Linked DNA regions of Homo sapiens: region 2 is linked to region 1. Evidence: promoter capture Hi-C in human tissues and cell types (Jung and others, 2019). All regions are on one chromosome and are shown on one strand. The core of a region is centred on a gene start or on the middle of the fragment in contact, and the rest is flanking DNA. Distances in the headings are between cores, read along the strand shown. Region 1 holds the start of PGF (placental growth factor). Region 2 has its middle 15 kb from the start of EIF2B2.

Region 1 (4,391 bases), core at 1,144-3,643:
CTCACAGCCCAGGAAGCTGGGTTTAGAAGGGTATGGTCCCCAATTTAGTGATGAAGGACTGAGGTGCACTTGTGGGAACCACAGACTTCGCCCAAGGTGTTGAGTTCACTCAGGAAAGAGAACTTCGGCATCCCCAGCCATCGGTATCCCCCTACTCCATGAATGTAAACTCAGAGAGACCCTCCATATCATATCCCTAGCACCTAGAGCAGTTCCTGGAGCATAGCAGGGCTCAGGCAATACATGCCAAATGAAAAAACAAATTAATGAATACAGGCTGGGCGCGGTGGCTCACACCTGTAATCCCAGCACTTTGGGAGACTGAGGTGGGTGGATCACTTGAGACCAGGAGTTCTCGACCAGTCTGGCCAACATGACAAAAACCTGTCTCTACTAAAAATACAAAAATTAGCCAGGCATGGTGGTGTACACCTGCAATCCCAGCTACTTGGGAGGCTGAGGCACAAGAATCGCTTGAACCCATGAGGCAGATGTTGCAGTGAGCCGAGATTGCGCCACTGTCTACCAGCCTAGGCGACAGAGCAAGACTCTGTCTCAGAAAAAAAAAAAAAAAATACAAACTCATACACAATAGACACATCCCATGCATAAGTGCTAGAAACACTCAGTTATAGACAAGCATATACAATGAAGATACTTAAGCACACGCGCACACACTTGTGCACAATACACACCTGTGCCCACATACACAAATCCATACCCAAACTAAAGACACACACAAACACGTGTATGTATACAAAGATGTTATGGGCAACATATACAATACATATATGCACAAACACACACCTACTCACCCTCACACACATGCACAGTGACCCTCCACAATGATTCTGGGCCCAGGAAGCAGTTTGTCTACCCCACGAACCCCAGCTTGTTTGAAGCTCGTCAGGATGTTCCTTGCAGACCCCGCTTAGCCAGCTGGTGACTGGCCCCCGCCTCCTGAACCTCCAGGCTTAGGGCCGGCCAGGCAGGCAGGCTGCATCTCTGGCAGCCCCTCGTGGGTGGGCAGGCAGGCAGGCAGTGGACGCAGAGGTCACTGGGGTGAGAGCTGGGGCTGCCCTGGCCTCCCTGCTCTTGGCTGGAATGTGAGCTGTAGGGGCCACTTCCCAGGCCTCGCTCCTCCCCCACAGCCACCCACCAGCCCCAGGCCCAGCCAACTCGTGACTCCCAGTCCTGCCAGGTTCCTGCAGCCTGGGAGCTGGACACAGAAGGCAGTGAGAGGAGTGGTGGTAAAGAAAGATCCAGAACCAAGGGAGGGCACACACAAACGCAGAGAGAGAGGCACAGTCTTCACCCACAGAGACAGACACACACACGCAGAGACAGGCAGGCGTGCAGACTCACAGTCCCACCGAAAGATACACATTCAGACACTTCCAAACACACCCAGATACACAGCGGACACGAACAGATCACACAAGCATACAGAGATACAGAGAGACCTGACCCCCACACAGAGGCGTATTTGGAGGTACAGTAGTCACACGTACTCAGACCACACAGAGGCTCAGATGCACCGCTCATGGATATTCACAGACCCGCAAATGCCCATGCACACGCGCAGATGCACACAGACCCCCGCGCAGCGTACAGTTCCTCCTCGGCCAGGGACCAGGAGGAGATGCCTGAGTGAGACCACTCTCTACCACAGGGGGCTGCCCCGCAGGGAGGGCCTGGGAAGACTGCTTCCCAAGGAGGCAACAGGCCTGATCCTCCAGCCAGGTGCCCTGAGAGGTTTCCTGTGGGAGGCCCACTGTGTCCGTGCCTGGCTAGGAGGGTGGTAGGTCGGGTTAGAGTTCTGGAGTCACGTAGGCTTGGGTTTTGTCTCTGCCAGTTCCTCGGACACACAGATGCGCGCACACACACAACACACACACACTTTCCAAGAATGCCTATGTCCATTCGACATATGCAGGCAGGGGTGCTCTCGGAGCCTCGGTTTCTTCATCTATATAACCTGGCTAGGAATCCCTTGGCCCCCTAGGGGTGTGGGCATGGCTGCCTTCCCAGGCATCCCGGACGGCCCTTCCTGCAGAGGCGGTTAGATCATGAGCCTTGACGGCTGACGCTGGACTCCTGGATGCCCCCATCCCAGGTGACCGCCCTGAGAGCCGAAGCAGGGCTGTGGGCCCTGTGGGCGGGCGCGGCGCGGCCCGGGGAGCTGCGGGCTGGGCTCGGCGAGGCGTCTGGACCTGCCGAGAGCCCCTCGCACGCACTGCGGGCTCCGGCGCTGCGGGCTGGCCGGGCGCTGCGGGCTGACCGGGCGCTCCGGGAACTCGGCTCGGGAACCTCGTCTGCGGTGGGCGGGGCCGGCCCGGAGCCCCGCCCCGGCTCAGTCCCTGAAACCCAGGCGCGGACCGGCTGCAGTCTCAGAAGGGAGCTGCTGTCTGCGGAGGAAACTGCATCGACGGACGGCCGCCCAGCTACGGGAGGACCTGGAGTGGCACTGGGCGCCCGACGGACCATCCCCGGGACCCGCCTGCCCCTCGGCGCCCCGCCCCGCCGGGCCGCTCCCCGTCGGGTTCCCCAGCCACAGCCTTACCTACGGGCTCCTGACTCCGCAAGGCTTCCAGAAGATGCTCGAACCACCGGCCGGGGCCTCGGGGCAGCAGTGAGGGAGGCGTCCAGCCCCCCACTCAGCTCTTCTCCTCCTGTGCCAGGGGCTCCCCGGGGGATGAGCATGGTGGTTTTCCCTCGGAGCCCCCTGGCTCGGGACGTCTGAGAAGATGCCGGTCATGAGGCTGTTCCCTTGCTTCCTGCAGCTCCTGGCCGGGCTGGCGCTGCCTGCTGTGCCCCCCCAGGTAAGAGCTACCCCCACCTAGCCTGGCTCCCCAGACCTCCCCATCCCAGCACTGGAAGCATGGGACTCTGAAATCACAGACCCACTCCAGGGAGCAGCAACTCCAAGGATGTCCACACACTTCCTAAAGGCCAGGCTGGACTTCTTTCGTTTGGGAAGAGACCTCAGGCTGGCTGTCCCCCAGGTCCTGGGGGCTGTCTTGGTGGGGGCAGGGAAGCCACAGGGAGGGAGGGAGGGAGGGAGGTTTCCTGTCTGGCCCCTGGAGCCCTGGTGGCTTTGCTAAAAGCATCTGTCCACTAATCCCAGGCGGGTCCCTGGCCTTGTGGTCAGGGTCGAGGCCCCATGGCCAACCAGGCGTCCCCAGGACCTCTGACCTGGCCTGGTGGGGGTGGCGGAGGAGCCAGCTGAAGAAGCTGTTGGTGGGGAGGCTGGCCCTGCCCCCACCAGGGCTCAGGACTGAGCCGTGGGCTCCTGGGTGGGCTGGGGACGAGACAAGGGGTCTCGCTGTGCCTTTTCTCCTGGGTGGGTGGCCGGAGGTCCTGAGTGCAGGGCCTGGGGAAGTGAGCAGGGCCCTTTTCCCAGGAGCCGGGTGAGTCTGGCTGGGAGCCAGCTTGGGCAGTGAAATCCTGACAAAGCCAATGAACTGCCTTCCCACTGCGTTGTCCCACTGCCCTGGGAGTCCCCAGCCCCAGCCCAAGAGTAGGAGTGGGCTGGGCAGTCCCTGAGGAGTCCGAGCAGCCCAGCCACCCGCCTGCCTGCTGCAGGGCTGGCCAGAGGTGTAACGTTACCGGCTGCACCAGCTCATGGCGCCACCCGCTCCAGCCCCTCAGCTCCCACCAGCTGATCACCTCCCCCTGGGCTCTGGCACCCAGCCAAGGCGGGCTGTGCAGGGCCCAGCAGGGTTGGCCTGGGGGCTGGGTAGAAGGCAGACCCGCAGGATTGGAAGATCTTTGGGATGCAGCAGGCCAAGGGTCTCCAAAAGCTTCTAGCCTCCCATCCTTTTCCAAATGAGGAAAACTGAGGCCAGAGAGGGGTGGGACCTAACCTACCCAGGGTCCAGTGAGTTTTTAGTGGTACTCAGGCTGCTCTGAGACAGGGCAGAGCATGTGCAGCAAGTGGGAAGGAACCCAGAGGGGCCCCTACCTTCTTGCCATCACACTTGGCCCAAGAGTGCAGAGCTCCAAGGTACCCCCAGCTCACCTCTGCACTTTTCTGTCCATAGCAGTGGGCCTTGTCTGCTGGGAACGGCTCGTCAGAGGTGGAAGGTAAGCTGGCCAGGCTGGGGGTACGCATGCTCCCCAAGCCCCTCTCTTCCTTTCTCCCAAGCCCAGGTGTGGCATGAAGCGTGGGTGCAGGTTGATAAAAGCTGGGGAGAGCCTACAAGCTAGACATGCTGGGTGATGACTTTGGCAGGGCCTAAGAGATCCCCTCATGGTGACCCAGAGACTAGAGAGGTGTGGGCTGGAGTCACCAGCACACGGAGAGTGGGGCTGGGGCCAGTATAGCCAGGGTTCATCCAGCTGGCTCAGAGCCCTTCCCCAGCATGATTTAAGGGTATGGATGGGGTCTT
Region 2 (4,789 bases), core at 80-2,579, 33 kb before region 1:
ATTTCAAAATAAATAGTTAAACAAACAAAACCAGGATTTATGAAATAAAAACATCTATTTAAAAGAAAATTATAAAATTATAAAGCATTACATTTGGGGGATGGTCATTTTTTTTTAAGAGACAGGGTTACTGTGTCGCCCAGGCTGGGGTGCAGGGGTCCAATCATAGCTTACTGTAGCCTCAAACTGATCCTCCCCCTTCAGCCTCCCAAGTAGTGAGGACTACAGCTACAGGTGTGGGCCACCACATCTGGCTAATTTTTTTTTTTTTTTTTTTTTTTTTTTTTTTTTGTGCAGACAGGATCTTGCTATGTTCCCCAGGCTGGTCTTGATCTCCTGGCTTCAAGAGATCCTCCCATCTTGGCCTCCCAAAGCACGGGGATTACAAGCGTGAGCCACTGTGCCCAGTGAATTTTTAAAGTAACTCTAGCTGTAATTGTTAAATGACACAATGCTAAAATAGATCTTGAAAGAGGCTGTTTAAAGTCTCTCTCTATATGTATTTTTTTTAAGACAGAGTCTTGCTCTGTCACTCAGGCTGGAGTGCAGTGGTGCAATCTCGGCTCACTGCAACGTCCGCCTCCTGGGTTTAAGCAATTCTCTGCCTCAGCTTCCTGAGTAGCTGGGATTACAGGTGCTTGCCACCACGGCTGGCTAATTTTTGAATTTTTAGTAGAGACGGGGTTTCACCATCTTGGCCAGGCTGGTCTTGAACTCCTGACCTCGTGATCCACCCGCCTCGGCCTCCCAAAGTGCTGGGATTACAGGCATGAGCCACCGTGCCCGGCCTAAAGTCTATAATTTTTTTAAAGCAGGATGTAAAAATAGTATATTTGGTGGGACCTCAATTTCACTCTAAAAATATACTTTATTTGTATGTATTATATATATATAAATATACACAATACACATATTCTTACACATACATATATATGTATATAGGTGTGTGTGTGTGAAGTGTGTATAATGACATATACTATGACATTAACAGTGACTATCTCTGGATAGTACGATTACAGGTTTATCAGAGACAATTGCTCCCAAAGCCACTCTCCCCTCCTATAGTAATAGAGTTTTAGCTGGGAAAATAGCCACCCAGAATAGAAACTACATTTCCCAGTCTCCTTCACAGGTAGATGTGGCCATGTGCCTATGTTCTTACCAATGGGAAGGTGTGGAAGTATTAACATTTTGTTGCTGCTTTTGAGAACCTTCCCTAGGAGATAGCTGGGATGGGTCTTTGGCCTCTTCATGACTTTCTCTTTCTTGCTGCATTTCTGCTCTGCCAGCTTAGGTGATGAGGATACAGGTCCTACTGTAGGGATGGCAGAGGAGTGAGCCAGAAGGAGCCTGCACACTCTGAGGTCTCTGCGGAGTGGAGCTCCCATACCAGCCTGGAATATTCACCTCTGGGCTTCATACAGCTGAGAGCTAAATAAACTTCAGTCTTGTTTAACTTCCACAGTTATCTAGGAGTTTCCATCACTTGCAGTCACACCCAACTCTAATAAAATGCAAGAATGATTTTTATTTTTATTTGTGTACTGTTCTGTATTTTCCAAAATTTCTACAGTTAACATATGCCGTTCATAATGAGAAGTAAAAGTTATTTGTAAGAAACATAAGAAATCCATCAGGCCCATTCTTTCAGCCAGAAATATGATTATGTTGATCAAATCTTCCAGATTTTCCAGAAATGTCCCAATTCCAAACATTATGGCTGATTGTCTGCATAATTATCAAATAACAGTTTCCTGGACTTAATTTGGAGAATACGGTGATTATGATGATAATTCTGAACTGGGGGCAGCAAGGCTTACTAAAATGTTTGTGTCTTTATCCTTCTGTTCCAAAGAATCTCCTTTAGGCCATAGGATCACTTCCTTTTCCTGAAGGCCTTTGACTCAACACTTGGGCATGTGAATGCACTACTGTTTTTATCCTTCTCTGATTGTTTTGGTGGATAAGTCATGTCTCTATGCAACCTGAGAACAAGTGCTATTGTAGTAGACACCTGTTGTTTTTGTCTGCCCTGCACCCGCTTTCCGTTGGGAACTGCCCTTCCTCATCTCATGTGATTTGGGTGGAACTGTCAATCCCAGCACCTCCTCGTGCCCCAAGTGGCCCCTAACCACAGGCCTGGCCCCCCACACCTGGGACTGGTCCATCATCCAACTTCCACGCTGATTGGTCATGCAAAGCCATTCAGTCCTGTGATTTGCTATATGGACCCTGGAAGAAAGCAGGTTTCTGTCCTCATCTGCTGTAAAGAGGTTGGCTTTGGACTAGCGGTGGCTACCTTTCCTGCCTCATGGGGAGAGCTTGTCTAGTGTAGGAGAAAGTCAGCCAGCTGCTCCAGGAGAAGCAAGTAGAGCCCAGTCCTAGACAGAGGGAGAAAGAACAAATGAGCTGATGATTTGAGATGAGCTGATGATTTGAGATGAGCTGACATGGGCCCTTAGATCTAGCCATGGCTGAAGGTACAGCCACCCTTGGACTTCTCAACAAATTCCCCTTTGGCTTAACTTTTTGGGTTGCTAGAGCCTTGCCTAAGCTTCTTGTGTCCTCCCAGGAGCCCAAGCCTATTTTCAGTCAAGGGAGGAGTGTGTTATTTGGTTGCTTCTGCTAAACAAGAAATTAATCTTGCTCTAAATACAGATTTATATTTTGTGGCATCTGGCTCTGTTCTTGAGCTTCCCTGACACTTTATCATGATCAATTGCTAGGAATCGTTTTTTTTGTGTGTGTGTTTTTTTTGAGAAGGAGTCTCGATCTCGTCACCCAGGCTGGAGTGAAGTGGTGCAATCTCAGCTCACTGCAACCTCTGCCTCCTGGGTTCCAGTGATTCTCCTGGCTCAGCCTCTTGACTATCTGGGATTTACAGGCACGCGCCACCACGCCCGGCTAATTTTTGTATTTTTGGTAGAGATGGGGTTTCAACATGTTGGCCAGGCTGTTCTCAAACTCCTGACTTCAGGTGATTCACCCGCCTCGGCCTCCCAAAGTGCTAACATTACAGGCGTGAGCCACTGCGCCAGGCCAATTGCTAGGAATTTGAAGGGAAAGTCTAATGACAGACACAGGTAGTGGAACCCAGGGTACGTGATTAGAAAAAAAAAAACAATCTTACCCTATTGTTAGTAGGATTGTGTATTAATTGTTGCTCTTCATAGATCAACATATTTAACATGTAACAAATATTTATTATGCACCTTTATACCAAGCACCAACATTGCATACTGGAAACAGGCCCTGTACAAGGAGAAACTCAATACTAATAAACAGATCATCCCTTATACTTTAGAGGATTTTTGCTTTTTGGTTAGAGACTTTCATTTTCCTTATCTCTTTTGGTGTCTACAACAGCCCTATGAGATGGGTTGGTTCTGGTCAACAGATAGTTATTCTGCAATTGATAGGTCCCTTCTGCTAAGTGAGAATGTCCAATCATTTAGGTACACAAAACAATATAGTCTGAGATTCTGAAAGAAAAAACAAGTGGCGATCAAGGCCCAGTAGCCAGTTATTCTCTTAGTCACTGAACGTTAAATCATTTAAAAGCTGGGGTTTGAAAGTCACACACATCTCCTGGAGTTTGCCCCTCACAAGCTGGGTGACCTTGTCTGTCAGTGGAGATGTTAGTAACAGGGAACTCTGATAAATGGTAAGGATCTCAAACATTTAGAGACATGTACTACTACTGGCCTTTTTTTTTTTTTTTTTTGAAACAGAATCTCATTCTGTCACTTAGGCTGGAGTGCAGTGACACGATCTCATCTCCCTGCAACTTCTGCCTCCTGGGTTCAAGTGATTCTCGTGCCTCAGCCTCCTGGGTAGCTGGGATTACAGGCGTGGGCCACCACACCTGGCTAATTTTTGTATTTTTAGTAGAGATGGGGTTTCACCATGTTGGGCAGGCTGGTCTTGAACTCCCGACCTCAGGTGATCCACTGGCCTTGGCCTCCCAAAGTGCTGGTATTACAGTCTGAGCCACAGCACCCGACCTACTACCGATCTTTAAAGTAGCAGGTCTGGATACCCATTACATAAGAGAATTTTTAGAACTCTCCATAAAAGGTGATTCTGGTAGACCTGGTTGTAATTTCAGACTGGACAATTCAGAGAAAAATAATATCGACTTTTATTTTGATAACTCCTCTCTTTCAAGGACTCCCCAGTTATTTTAACTACCTGAGAATGTCTCTTTCAAGGACTCCTTGCATGGTGGTGCAGCCCCGTCCAGATGCCTGTGTCCTGGGTCCCAGCAGATTCCTGCCACTCTTGGAGCAGACATGGCCCTCGGTGACCAACCTGCAGGCAGCAGACCCCAGAGGCCCAACACTCCCTCACTCGCATCTGACTCCCCTCTGTCCCAGGAATAGTTTCTGTCCCTGGTTTGATGGCCGTGGCCAGGAATATTCTAACAGACAGTCATTGTCTAACTTCAGAGGGTAGTTTGATTAACTGGTTTCTGAGCAGGGTTTTCGGGCAAGAAGGCAAAACTTCTCAAGCTGCTCTCTCCATTGCACAGAATGTGGAGGTGGGGATAACTGAAGTCAGAAAATTCTTTCCAGTCTCAGCTAATTTCCCTTCTTGGGGCTTGAGGAAGAAGAATCACAGTGGCCTGCACTGATGAAGCACCTGCATTGTGCCAGAGACTTTTTATAATCACCTCGAAGTCTCCCAGGGCTCTGTACGGTAACATAGGCATGTTAACATCTTCATTTTACAGCAGAAGAAGCTGAGGCTCAAGTTGAGTGGCTTGCCACTGGTGGGGACCAAGTGTAGG

The links. Contacts are between HindIII fragments. The study calls those that stand out against the background at their distance.
Region 2: a contact is called between a fragment that was not itself captured here and the fragment with the promoter of PGF in region 1, in 2 of the 25 tissues and cell types used here (IMR-90 fibroblasts and liver).

Annotation. Positions count from the first base shown.
Region 1 is chr14:74,953,599-74,957,989 of GRCh38, reverse strand. It overlaps PGF (placental growth factor), which reads left to right and starts at 2,393. Exons shown (of 7, transcript NM_002632.6): 1 at 2,393-2,822; 2 at 4,044-4,086. The coding sequence starts at 2,748. RefSeq lists silencers at 2,247-2,346, 2,527-2,596. The HindIII fragment of the contact is 10,779 bases long and covers 1-4,391 here.
Region 2 is chr14:74,985,547-74,990,335 of GRCh38, reverse strand. No RefSeq gene overlaps it. Among named protein-coding and RNA genes, the nearest start is that of EIF2B2, 15 kb to the left of the region's middle. The HindIII fragment of the contact is 5,864 bases long and covers 1-4,261 here.